Linked DNA regions of Homo sapiens: region 1 is linked to region 2. The links are contacts of gene promoters, found by promoter capture Hi-C in blood cells and fetal thymus (Javierre and others, 2016). All regions are on one chromosome and are shown on one strand. The core of a region is centred on a gene start or on the middle of the fragment in contact, and the rest is flanking DNA. Distances in the headings are between cores, read along the strand shown. Region 1 overlaps ATG13 (autophagy related 13). Region 2 holds the start of AGBL2 (AGBL carboxypeptidase 2).

Evidence for each region. The method cuts DNA at HindIII sites, captures the fragments that hold promoters and counts their contacts. A CHiCAGO score of 5 or more calls a contact.
Region 1: a fragment that was not itself captured here is called in contact with the fragment with the promoter of AGBL2 in region 2 in 1 of 17 cell types (monocytes); the score reaches 5.2 in monocytes.

Annotation. Positions count from the first base shown.
Region 1 is chr11:46,650,812-46,656,915 of GRCh38, reverse strand. It overlaps ATG13 (autophagy related 13), which reads right to left. Exons shown (of 19, transcript NM_001346311.2): 8 at 643-683. Among named protein-coding and RNA genes, the nearest start is that of ATG13, 36 kb to the right of the region's middle. The HindIII fragment of the contact is 2,737 bases long and covers 310-3,046 here.
Region 2 is chr11:47,712,549-47,718,884 of GRCh38, reverse strand. It overlaps AGBL2 (AGBL carboxypeptidase 2), which reads left to right and starts at 3,516. Exons shown (of 19, transcript NM_024783.4): 1 at 3,516-3,710; 2 at 4,135-4,267; 3 at 4,538-4,601. The coding sequence starts at 4,235. It overlaps FNBP4 (formin binding protein 4), which reads left to right. Exons shown (of 17, transcript NM_015308.5): 17 at 1,373-2,391. The coding sequence ends at 1,463. RefSeq lists an enhancer at 3,779-3,838. The HindIII fragment of the contact is 6,151 bases long and covers 2,353-6,336 here.

The DNA.
Region 1 (6,104 bases), core at 429-2,928, 1.1 Mb after region 2:
TGTGTGTATATATAGGTTTCTTCCCTCTCAATGTATTCTATATTGAGCCAATATTGGCAAGGGAAACAGCACTCTATTTATAGATAAAGCTACCTTCAAAGAGATAAAATAACTGTTAGTTTTAAGGCCTGAGAAAGTTCTACTAACCAGCCCTGCAAAGGATACATCACATGCTAAAAAAGACAATGAAGGAGCACTAGAATGTCACACAAACACTTCAGTTTAAGAAGTAATTGCCTTCCACCCAAGCTGCCACTCCACGGCTAAGTAAAGAGCCAAGGCCTTGCAAGTGACACTTTCAACAAAGCTTTCCTGATTTTCTTGGTTTCATTTCCAATTTTTCAAAATTCTTGTTGTTCATCAGAAACATTTAACATCCTCACTGTAGAAAATTAGGAAAATATACAGTTTTATAAAGAGTAAGAAAGAAGACTGAGTTCCTGGAACTTTGGGAAAAATTATTTGGTTACCCTGGCAGATCAGGGGTAACCTGGACCACCTACCTGCATTCTCATCTTTTCTTTACTTGTATTATGCATATTAAGATGACAATCTACATATTATAACAAGTAGAAACGAAGATCATCTCTGAAGTTAGGAGAGCTCTGAACACTACGATGTTTTTCAACCGTTGATACATACCTTCTCCTAAGCCACTCAGCTGAACTTCTCCAAAATATATCCTGTATGGAAGAAAAAATAAGAAATGTTACCTGATTCTTTACTCCTAAGGGCCTCTATAGCCAAAACACGTAGAAACAAAATAAAACAAAGCCTTCCTTACTCATCTGCTCAAATACCTCTGCTGATGGAGCATTAGTAATTCCTACTACTTCAATTAAGCTACAGGCATGGAGACGTACAGAGTGGGTTGGTTAAAAAATAAGGAAAATAAGGCCAGGCACAGTGGCTCATGCCTGTGATCCCAGCACTTCGGGAGGATCACTTGAGGCCAGGAGTTCAAGACCAGTCTGGGCAACACAGCAAGACCCTGCATTGACAAAAAATAATTTTGCCGGGTGTGATGGTGCATGCCTGGAGTACCAGATAACTGGGAGGCTGAGGTGGGAGGATCACTTAAGCCCAGGAAGTTGACGCTGCAGTGAGCCAAGATTGCACCATTGCATTCCAGCCTGGGCAAAAGGATGAGACGCTGTCTCAAAAAAAGAAATGAGGAAAATAATAATTAAGTGGAAACTGCTATTTAAGTTTCTTCTCTCTGCTACTAAAATGTATTTTAAAATTATACCTACTGAGAAATAAAGAATATATAAATAAAAGTGGCCAACAGGTCTAGGATTGCTACTAGAAGGCACTGGTTTTGTTTTGTTTTGTTTTGTTTGAGACGGAGTCTTGCTCTGTCACCCAGGCTGCAGTGCAGTGGCATGATCTCGGCTCACTGCAACCTCCAGCCTCCTGGGTTCAAGCGATTCTCCTACCTCAGCCTCCCAAGTAGCTGGGATTACAGACGCATGCCACCACGCCCGGCTGTTTTTTTGTTTGTTTGTTTTGCTTTTTGAGACTGAGTCTCACTCTGTCGCCCTGGCTGGAGTGCAGTGGTGCAATCTCGGCTCACTGCAAGCTCCGCCTCCCAGGTTCATGCCATTCTCCTGCCTCAGCCTCCCGAGCAGCTGGACTACAGGTGTCCGCCACCGCGCCCGGCTAATTTTTTGTATTTTTAGTAGAGACGGGTTTTCGCCGTGTTAGCCAGGATGGTTTCGATCTCCTGATCTCGTGATCCGCCCGTCTCAGCCTCCCAAAGTGCTGGGATTACAGGCGTGAGCCACTGCGCCCGGACCTGTTTTTTGGTTTTTTTTGAGACAGTGTCTCGCTCTGTCGCTCAGGCTGGAGTGCAATGGCACCATCTTGGCTCACTGCAACCTCCACCTCCTGGACTCAAGCGATTCTTGTGCCTCAGCCTCCCAAATGGCTGGCACTACAGGTATGCGCTACCATGCCTGGCTAATTTTTGTATTTTTGGTAGAGACAGGGTTTCGCCACATTGCCCAGGCTGGTCTTGAACTCCTGAGCTCAAGTGATACACCCGCCGTAGCCTCCCAAAGTGCTGGGATTACAGGTGCAAGCCACCATGCCTGGCCTGTTTTTCGGGTTTTTTAAAAATAATTTTTGGTAGAGACAGGGTCTAACTATTGCCCAGGCTGGTTGCAAACTCCTGGCCTCAACTGTTTTTTTTGAGACAGGGTCTCAGTGTGTTGCCCATGCTGGAGTGCAGTGGTATGACCACTGCCCACTGCAGCCTCAACCTCCTGGGCTCAAGAGATCCTCTCACCTCAGTCTCCTAAGCAGCTGGGACTACAGGCACGTGCCACCACACCCAGCTAAGTTTTTTTATTTCTAGTATAGACAGGGTCTCGGTGTGTTGCCCAGGCTGGTATCGAACTCCTGAACTCAAGCGATCCTCCCACCTCATTCTCCCAAAGTGCTGGGATTACAGGTGTGAGCCACTGCCCCTGGTCCTGGCCTCAAATTATTCTCCCACTTCAGTCTCCCAAAGTGCTGGGATCACAGGCATGAGCCACCATACCTGACCAGAATGTACTAGAGTTTGATAAGTGGTCTTTAGTTGTGGGAAGCTCTCTTTTACATATATATATATATATATATATATATAAAATTTTAAAAATAGTAGTGATGAGGTCTTGCCATGTGACCCAGGCTGGTCTGAAACTCCGGGGCTCAAGCAATCCTCCCACCTCAGCCTCCCAAAGTGCTGGGATTACAGGTGTGAGCCAACTGTGCCTGGCCATGAAGAAATCTCTAAGTAGATGGCTTAACAAAGCAGGAAATCTTTTCCACCGTGGAATAATGAACTAGGTAAGACTATTCTGAAAAAAAAAAATAAAAACATAAACACAGTGGAACCTTCCTATGATTCTCCCTGGACAGGCCAGTCTATATTAGCAAAAAGTTTGAATTCAAAATACCTAAAATCTATTTTCATATTTTTCAAGTAATATTGTTAAAATTAAATATACACATGGGTTTATTCAATAAATACTAAGCTCCAACAATGTATGAAGAAGCTTCGCCAGGCGCGGTGGCTCACGCCTGTAATCCCAGCACTTTGGGAGTCTGAGGCGGGTGGATCATGAGGTCAGGAGATCGAGACCATCCTGGCTAACATGGTGAAACCCCGTCTCTACTAAAAATACAAAAAATTAGCCGGGCGTGGTGGCGGGTGCCTGTAGTCCCAGCTACTCGGGAGGCTGAGGCAGGAGAATGGCGTGAACCTGGGAGGCGGAGCTTGCAGTGAGCCGAGATTGTGCCATTGTACTCCAGCCTGGGCAACACAGCGAGACTCCGTCTCAAAAAACAAAAAAAAAAAAAAGAAGCTTCATGGTTAGATGTTAGGAATGAAATAAGGATAAATCTGAATCCTAGGTCTTACAGACTACAGTTTTGTATGAAAGAAAAGAAATGTAGCTGGACATGGTGGCTCACGCCTGTAATCCCAGCACTCTGGGAGGCCGAGGTGGGCGGATCAATTGAGGTCAGGAGTTCAAGACCAGCCTGGCCAGCATGGTGAAACCCCATCTCTAATTAAAATACAAAAATTAGCCAGGCGTGGTGGTGCATGCCTATTAATCCCAGCTACTTGGAAGGCTGAGGCACGACAATCACTTGAACCAAGGAGGTGGAGGTTGCAGTGAGCCAAAATCGTGCCACTGCACAGCCTAGGTGAGCAAGACTCCACCTCAAAAAAAAAAAAAAAAAGAAAAGAAATGAAATGTATGTAAATATCTGAAATACAAAGCACAAAAGTACTACAGATACGACAGACAAAAGATACTAAAAAAGCAGGGATCAGCAAACCTTTCTGTAAAGGACCAAATGGTAACTATTTTAAGATTGTGGGCCGTATAGGCTATAACAAATACTCAGCTTTCTGTTGTATTGCAAAAGTAGCCATAGACAATATGTAAACAAAGGGGATGGCTGTGTCCTAAAAAAACTTTTTTTATAAAAACAAGCAGATGGTCGGCTGACCATAGTTTAGTGACTCCTGCCATAAAGTAATATAGGAACAATGTTAATAAAGTGTTGGTAAAAGAGATCTTGCTAAGTAAATACCCTTTAAGGCCTTTAACAAGAAGCTGAGACTCAGGCAGTTCACTATTCATGTAAATACTGATACAGTGCTTAAAATTTGCTAAACTTTTTCTTGGCAATGTGTATTTTTTTGAGACAGAGTCTTGCTCTGTCACCCAGGCTGGAGTGCAGTGGTGTGATCATGGCTCACTGAAGCCTTGACCTTCTGGACCCAAGCAATCCTCCCTCAGCCTCCTGAGTAGCTGGGACTACAGATGTGAACCACCACACCTGGCTAATTTTTTACATTTTTAGTAGAGACAAGGTATCACTATGTTGCCCAGGCTGGTCTCGAACTCCTGACCTCAGGTGATCCTCCTGCCTCGGCCTCCCAAAGTGCTGGGATTATAGGCGTGAGTCACTACACCTGGTCAAGACTATTCTTTAATGGTATCACGCTGTTAACCTTCTAACAACAGTATAAAAAGCAGGTGGAAAAGCCAAGTCTACCTCTGAGATCACCCACATCTCTAGATCTAAGCTACAGTTATTTGTATCCAAAAGCACTCCTAAATGATCAACATCCTGTGAGCAGCACTAGTTTGTTTGGGTTTTTTTGAGATACAGTATAGCCCTGTCACCCAGGCTGGAGTGCAGTGGTGTGATCTTGGTTCCCTGCAACCTCCGCCTCCTGGGTTCAAGTGATTCTCATGCCTCAGCCTCCCGAGTAGCTGGGATTACAGGAGCGTGCCACCCTGCCCAGCTAATTTTTTGTATTTTTAGTAGAGACAGTGTTTCGCTATGTTGTCAGGCTTGTCTCGAACTCCTAACCTCAAGTGACCACCCACCTCAGCCTCTCAAAGTGCTGGGATTACAGCCGTGCGTCCGGCCCCTGTGAGCAGTAATGATTACTCCAGAGATACCTAATAAAGGAACACTTTAAACACTGGTATGAAAAGGACTAGCAGTCCTAGGTAACTAAGCCGATGATTTTAGTAGGGTATCTTTCTAATATATCTCAATAGAAGTCTAGCAATTTTCAAATAAAACAACTTGAAACCAGAAGACTACGGAGAAGACGGCAAAAATTTATTAAAGACCTAGAAAAATAGACATGGTTAGGCTTGCTAGGATATTGCTAAGAAAGTTAAAGGAAATGACAACTATTCTCAGGTACCGGATTATTTCAACAGAACTAGATAAGTCTCTCCTCCTTTGGTCCCTCTATCTTGCTATACTATTCGTCTAAAAATCAGCTCTATACATGTAAGGCAAAGGCTTAAACCAATGGCTTATCACTAAATACAAAAGAAAGGCATCTTTGGTAGATTTGGGACCCCAGCATTCCAAGCTCTTCTCTCACACTTTGCTACATACCCTCTACTCCACCACTCTGGTTCATCTGACAATCTGAGCAGAGCTCTGACCCTGCCCTCCACTTCTGTGCCTTGCTAGCTGCTGAACTCTCCATCTGGAATAATTATTCTCCCTCACTTTTACCAGCTCAAATTCTCTTTCCCTAATAGGCTAGCTTGAATGCTACTTCCTTCATAAGAACTGCACTGTTTACCAACCAGAACAAATTTTATCTTTCTATATTCTCTCAGTACCTTTTTTTCCTGATTCTGGTTTGCAGTTTTCAAATCCTGCTTTTTAAAAGTAATTATACATGTATCAAATTGTTTTCCTCACTACATTAAACCACCTCTAATGCTGGGCCTCTGTATAGTTCTTAAGTTCTCCTGGCACAATGCTTGCACTAAAAAGGTGCTCAATAAATGTGCTGAGGTGAAATGCTCCAAGGAAAATACTCTGTTGACCCATTCTTTATATCCACAGACAACTAATTAAAAACTTAAACTGAGTTAACAGTTTGTTAGACAAAGTTTTAATTTAACCCTGGAATACAGAAAACTGTGGAATCTTCCCAGTATAGACTGTTTTTCAAAGTCTTGACTTCCAGGCCGGGTGCCGTGGCTCACACCTATAATCCCAGCACTTTGGGAGGCTGAGGCAGGCAGATCACAAGGTCAGGAGCTCGAGACCAGCCTGGC
Region 2 (6,336 bases), core at 2,267-4,766:
CTCACACCTGTAGTCCTAGATGCTTGGGAGGCTGAGGCAAGAAGATGGCTTTCTCAAAAATTCTAGAAATTTTAAAGACTTTAGACACAGCAAGTACAATTTTTTATTTCATATTTTCCTTGTTTTGAAGGTATACATTCTGAAATGGGCAGCATTCTTTGACTGCAACTCACTGTTCATCAATTGTCAGTGTATAACCTAGAATATAGCTGTCTATTACTGATGCCAGATTTCAAATTAATCTCTGATAGGTTCTAGCTTAGTTTTTATTAAAGGTTCTAATGCATCCATTCTGTTAATTGCAAGATAGAATTTGAATTTTAATCCTTACAAATAAAACTACTTGAAAGAGAAACTCAAAAACATTAGATCCGGCCGGGCACAGGGGCTCACATCTGTAATCCCAGCACTTTGGGAAGCCGAGGTGGGTGGATCACGAGGTCAGGAGTTCGAGACCAGCCTGGCCAACATAGTGAAAACCTGTCTTTACTAAAAATATAAAAATTAGCTGGACATGGTGGCAGGCGCCTGTAGTCCAAGCCACTTGGGAGGCTGAGGCAGGAGAATCGCTTGGACCTAGGAGGCAGAGGTTGCAGTGAGCCGAGATTGTGCCACTGCACTCCAGTCTGGGCAACAGAGCAAGACTCCATCTCAAAAACAGAAAAAAAAACATTAGATCCCAGGGTCCCTGTTGGTAGACTGAGGATTAGATATATCTGCCCTGAAGAATCATAACTCCTGTGGGCTAAGAAAAACTCTAATAGAACGTGTTTCATTTCTTCAGTGTGCCTTTAATGGTTATTGGAGGTATATTTATATAAAATAAATAAGGCCGGGCACGGTGGCTCACACCTGTAATCCCAGCACTTTGGGAGGCCAAGGCAGTCAGATCACCTGAGGTTGGGAGTTCGAGACCAGCCTGACCAACATGGAGAAACCCTGTCGCTACTTAAAAAAAAAAAAAATTAGCCAGGCATGGTTGCACATGCCTGTAATCCCAGCTACTCTGAGGGGAGGCTGAGGCAGGAGAATCGCTTGAACCTGGGAGGCGGAGGTTGCGGTGAGCCGAGATCGCACCATTGCACTCCAGACTGGGCAACAAGAGCAAAATTCCGTCTCAATCAGTCAATAATAAATAAATAAATATGCACTTAGACATATACGTAAAACTGGGGTAGTGTTTGGTTGACCTATCAGAATGAAGAAGTTTGATGAAGAATATACTGATGTTTGGCTGAGAAACAAAAGATTTTCATAAACATAGACGTGATAGATCAGGTTTTTAATTTCAGTTAGATTTTTATTTGCTGGGAAATGAATACTTTTGTTAATTTTTCTTTCCACTAAAATAATCTGTATGTTGTTTTCACAGTGGCATGGCAGAGAGAAATGCTAATTTTGAAGCCCTTCCTGAGGATTGGAGAGCAAGGCTGAAGAGAAGGAAAATGGCTCCAAACACATAGTTTTTAAGTTTTTAAAACTTTTTTGTATTATTGTTTGTTTTGTGTTCAGTTCAAAGTCTTAACCAGTTTTATTGTCAAATAAACTATAAATGTTATGGGGGAGATCTTATAAATTTCCTGGGCAAGAGTGTATGCATACAAAGTTTTCACTTTTGTGAAATGTAATTTTTCTGTTTTTGCAAAGGGATGAGGTGATTGGAATTGCTTTGACCATGCTGCCTTTATTCTCAAACTGGCAAACTTAGCATGTTAGGTGTATTAACCTCATCAGTCTTGAAGAACATGTGGCTCATGAGTATAACACTTCTGTAGAGGACTCCCTGACAAAAGTGAAGAATTAACTTCTCCTCCAGAACAAGTGCAATTCAGAAGGCAGCTCTGCATTCTACCTTGCTTGACTGGAATTGTCTGAAGCTTTTTCTGGCCTCTTTTCTCTAGTCGGCCACCCCTGAAGTGCTGAGGTCTAAGTGGTTTACCTCGTGCTGATAGATGGCCACACTCTTTAGAGTAGTTCTCATAAGTTCTAGAACTGGTAGCTCGGTCGTTTCGCACACTAGGTGGCATACAGGCAGCAGCAGGTGTTCATATCCTTGATTTTGAGAATTTCCCCTCAAGTATGTGGCAGTAAATACAACAAGACACTCTATGTATTAATGTCTCCATTGTCTTAACCCTGTTCCAAAACAAAATTCACCTCCTTTCTTTATGTGAATGTATTCTCCATAAAATTCCAGTATTTAAAAAGCAGTTTACTGTTCTGTACTTTCTGTTGTATCACAATCAGGTAAAAGTCACTTTAAACTGAGGAAACGGCAAATTGTGTTTTAAAGCTCTTTGTATTTCTCCAGTTTCTGACCTTGTAAATTTGTATATATGCACTAATAAAGCTTTTTTTATAATCCTGATGGGTTATCCTTTTGCTCGTCAACTCCTGTTATTCTGATTATGTAACCAGGACTTGTTTTTTTTTCTAAGCATATACAATGCAAGGTGCAAACATTTAACAACAGCTTTCAAGAAAATGAGCAGGAGATCTTTAATGGGGAGTGGTGGGGCCAGTTTAGACAAACAGGCTTCTAGTCCCAGATGGTGCTGTGTGATCAAAGTTTTGGGGTCTAATATTATCTATAATATCTAGATTGGTTAATAGCCATATTAGATAATATTTTACCTACTTAATTCCTGGCAATGATGTAATATGGTTAACATTTCAGAAAAAAAGGTGCTTTATAGCTTTTTTCCCCCCACTGATAAAAGTAACAGATACGGTTATATTCATATATAGTTAACCAAAGACACGTGTTTGAATTTTATTGTAGTATATTTATTTTTTTGTTGTTGGTTTTTTGTTTTTTTTTTTTCTGGAGACAGAATTTCGCTCTTGTTGCTCAGGCTGGAGTGCAATGGCACGATCTCGGCTCACCGCAACCTCCGCCTCCCAGGTTCAAGTGATTCTCCTGCCTCAGCCTCCCGAGTAGCTGGGATTACAGGCATGCGCCACCACACCCAGCTAATTTTGTATTTTTAGTAGAGATGGGGTTTTTCCATGTTGGTCAGGCTAGTCTCCAACTCTCGACCTCCCAAAGTTCTGGGATTACAGGCGAGAGCCACCGCGCCTGGCCTGGAGTAAATTTCTATGCATATAATTGATTTTTTTAAACCTAATCAAAATGTGTGATTTGAATTTGTTAGCTCTGTTTCTTAAGATTTGCAGTGTAGAAGGTAATTTTTCCTTTCTAGCTGTGCAGTGGAGAGAATGTTAAGGTGAAAGGAGAGAAGCAGCAGCTCTCTTAGAGCAAATTATGCATAACAGTTATCTAAAGCCAACAGCAAACCAGCTTGGAAGTATGTTGAAGGCTACTGGCATCGTACTCATCAATGCGGTTTCGATTCCGAGGCTGGGGCTGTGATGTATGAGGGGAAGAAAGCCGCTGCCCGCCATACATGTTGCAGACCTTCCCGGGGTCCCCGCTCCCTCCTTGGGGGCGAGGCCTAGCTCCCCGGAAGCGCCCGACCGCCCCGCCCTTTCTCCGCTTCCTGCTTTCGGTTGCTAGACTACCCGGGCCCTCACAGAAGGCGGTGGCGGGCGGGTGCAGCGAGTTTGTCCCCTTGCCCGCACACTGCTTGGCCTCTGTACTTAAGTGCGGTGGCCGCCTGCCTCGCTGGAGCTTCTCTGCCGCAGCCATCCGTGCTGCTTGGGACGGGCCGGGGCGCGAAGGCGGTCGCATCCATCGCTCTGCCCTCCTGGGAAGTTTCTGCTCTCCTTCCCCGCTCCTACCCTTAGGAAACCCCCTCACCACCTGCCCCAGACCAGGTTCCTCTGAACCCTAAATTCAATCTTTAGGGCCCACTTTCCCAACCCCCTGACCTTTTTCCATCGGCACCTACCGAGACGACTTCGTCGCGTGCTCCCATACCCATTTCTTTCACTTTCCTGTGGCGAGCATCTCCTTTCTCAGGGAAAGGGAAGCATGGGGCCAGCACCTTGGGAAGAAGAAGCGGGAAGATACGCTGCCCTCCCTGTCTCAGATGCACCTCTGGCCTCGGCGTGACCACCTTGTTTAGCTGAGGAGAAGCTGGGTTGGCAGGGTTTTCTGAAGTCAAGAGGGAGCTGGGGGGCGCCCGGGGAGGTATTGGCAGTTTTTTCACTTGTCCTCTTGTGGCTTTGTAGCTTCTCTTGTGTAATCAGCTGCCTATTTGGAAATTGGGCAGGGTTTGCGACTGGATGCTAATGTCACTGACTAGTTTTCAGCCTACCATCCAGAAGTAACATGTTCCCAGCTTTGGAAACGCACCTAAAGCAGGTCGGTACACAACACGGAAAGCCACAGAAATTTCTTCGGGGAACTCCATTTCTTCGGGAACTCCACAGAAATCTGCTACTAGATGAGAAGGGATGTTCTGGTGGCATCTTTTCTCAGCTGGAGATCTTGATCCCCACGATAGAATAATTCGCATGGAATGCAGCTCGCTTGGTTTAGTCTAGTCCTATGCAACAACGCTCATGTACTTTTTGTTGAGTCTATTATGGTTTGAAAACATTATCTTGATTGAAGTGGCCTTTCCTTTCACAGACTATTCCTGATCCTTATGAAGACTTTATGTACCGTCACCTCCAATATTATGGCTACTTTAAAGGTAATACCATGTTCTTATCTAGTATCACCTTTCCTGGACTCAAGAGGAAAATTGCTTCGTTAGCTGGGAGGGTTGCACTTGGGTAGACTAATAAATAATTTGCATTGACAAATAAATACTTTTTCCTCTACCATTAGTGAAAAGTACTTCCTTTCCCCATTGATCTGCGGGTCACCTCTGTCAAGTAGACAGCATCACTTAATACAAAGGTCTGTTTCTGGGCTCTCTATTCCATTGGTCTGTTTGGCTATCCTTTACCAGTATCACTGTCTCTTAATTACTATATGGCATTAAAATAGTCTTTATCTGGAAAGACATGTCTTCCCACCTTGTTCTTCAGAAGTGTCACGGCTGTTCTTGAGTCTTTGCCTTACTATATAAATTTTACAATTGGCGGCCGGGCACGGTGGCTCACACCTGTAATCACAGCACTTTGGGAGGCCGAGACGGGTGGAGCACGAGGTCAGGAGATCGAGACCATCCTGGCTAACACGGTGAAACCCCGTCTCTACTAAAAATACAAAAAAATTAGCCGGGCGTGGTGGTGGGTGCCTGTAGTCCCAGCTACTGGGAAGGCTGAGGCAGGAGAATGGCGTGAACCTGGGAGGCGGAGCTTGCAGTGAGCCGAGATCAAGCCACTGCACTCCAGCCTGGGCGACAGAGTGAGACTCTGTCTCAAAAAAAATAAATAAATAAAAATTTAAAAAAATAAATTTTGCAATTGGCTTATGACATTTTATTTTATTTTTTATTTATTTTGAGATGAAGTCTCACCCTGTCGCCCAGGCTGGAGTGCAGTGGCACGATCTCGGCTCACTGCAACCTCTGCCTCCCAGGTTCAAGAGATTCTCCTGCCTCAGCCTCCTGAGTAGCTGGGATTACAGGCACGAGCCACCACGCCTGGGTAATTTTTGTTTCTTTCTTTTTTTTTTTTTTTTTGCGATAGAGTCTCACTCTTTTCACCCAGGCTGAAATGCAATGGCGCAATCTCGGCTCACTGCGACCTCCACCTCCTGGGTTCAAGAGATTCTCCTGCCTCAGCCTCCCAAGTAGCTGGGATTACAGGCGCCCACCACCACTCCCAGCTAATTTTTTTGTGTATTTGTAGTAGAGACGGGGTTTCAACATGTTGGCCAGGCTGGTCTTGAACTCCTGACCTCAGGTGATCCACCTGCCTAGGCCTCCCAAAGTGGTGGGATTACAGACGTGAGCTTACCGCGCCCAGTGTTTTTTTTATTCTTGAGACGGAGTTATGCTCTTGTTGCCCAGGCTGGAGTGCAGTGGTGCAATCTAGGCTTGCTGCAACTTCCACCTCGCGGGGTCAAGCGATTTTCCTGCCTCAGCCTCCCAAGTACCCAGGTAGCTGGGATTACAGGCGTGTACCACCATGCCTGGCTAATTTTGTATTTTTAGTAGAAACGGTTTCACCATGTTGGCCAGGCTGGTCTCGAACTGACCTCAGGTGATCCACCCACCTCAGCCTCCCAAAATGCCAAGATTACAGGCATGAGCCACCACGCTCGGCCTAATTTTGGTATTTTTAGTAGACACAGGGTTTCCTCATGTTGGCCAGGCTGTTCTCGAACTCCTGACCTAAGGTGATCCACCCACCTTGGCCTCCCAAAGTGCTGGGATTACAGGCGTGAGCCACTGTCCCCAGCCCGCTTATGACATTTTAAAAGATTATAGGAATTGCATTAAATCTGTAGATCAAATTTCACAAGAACTGGCAATT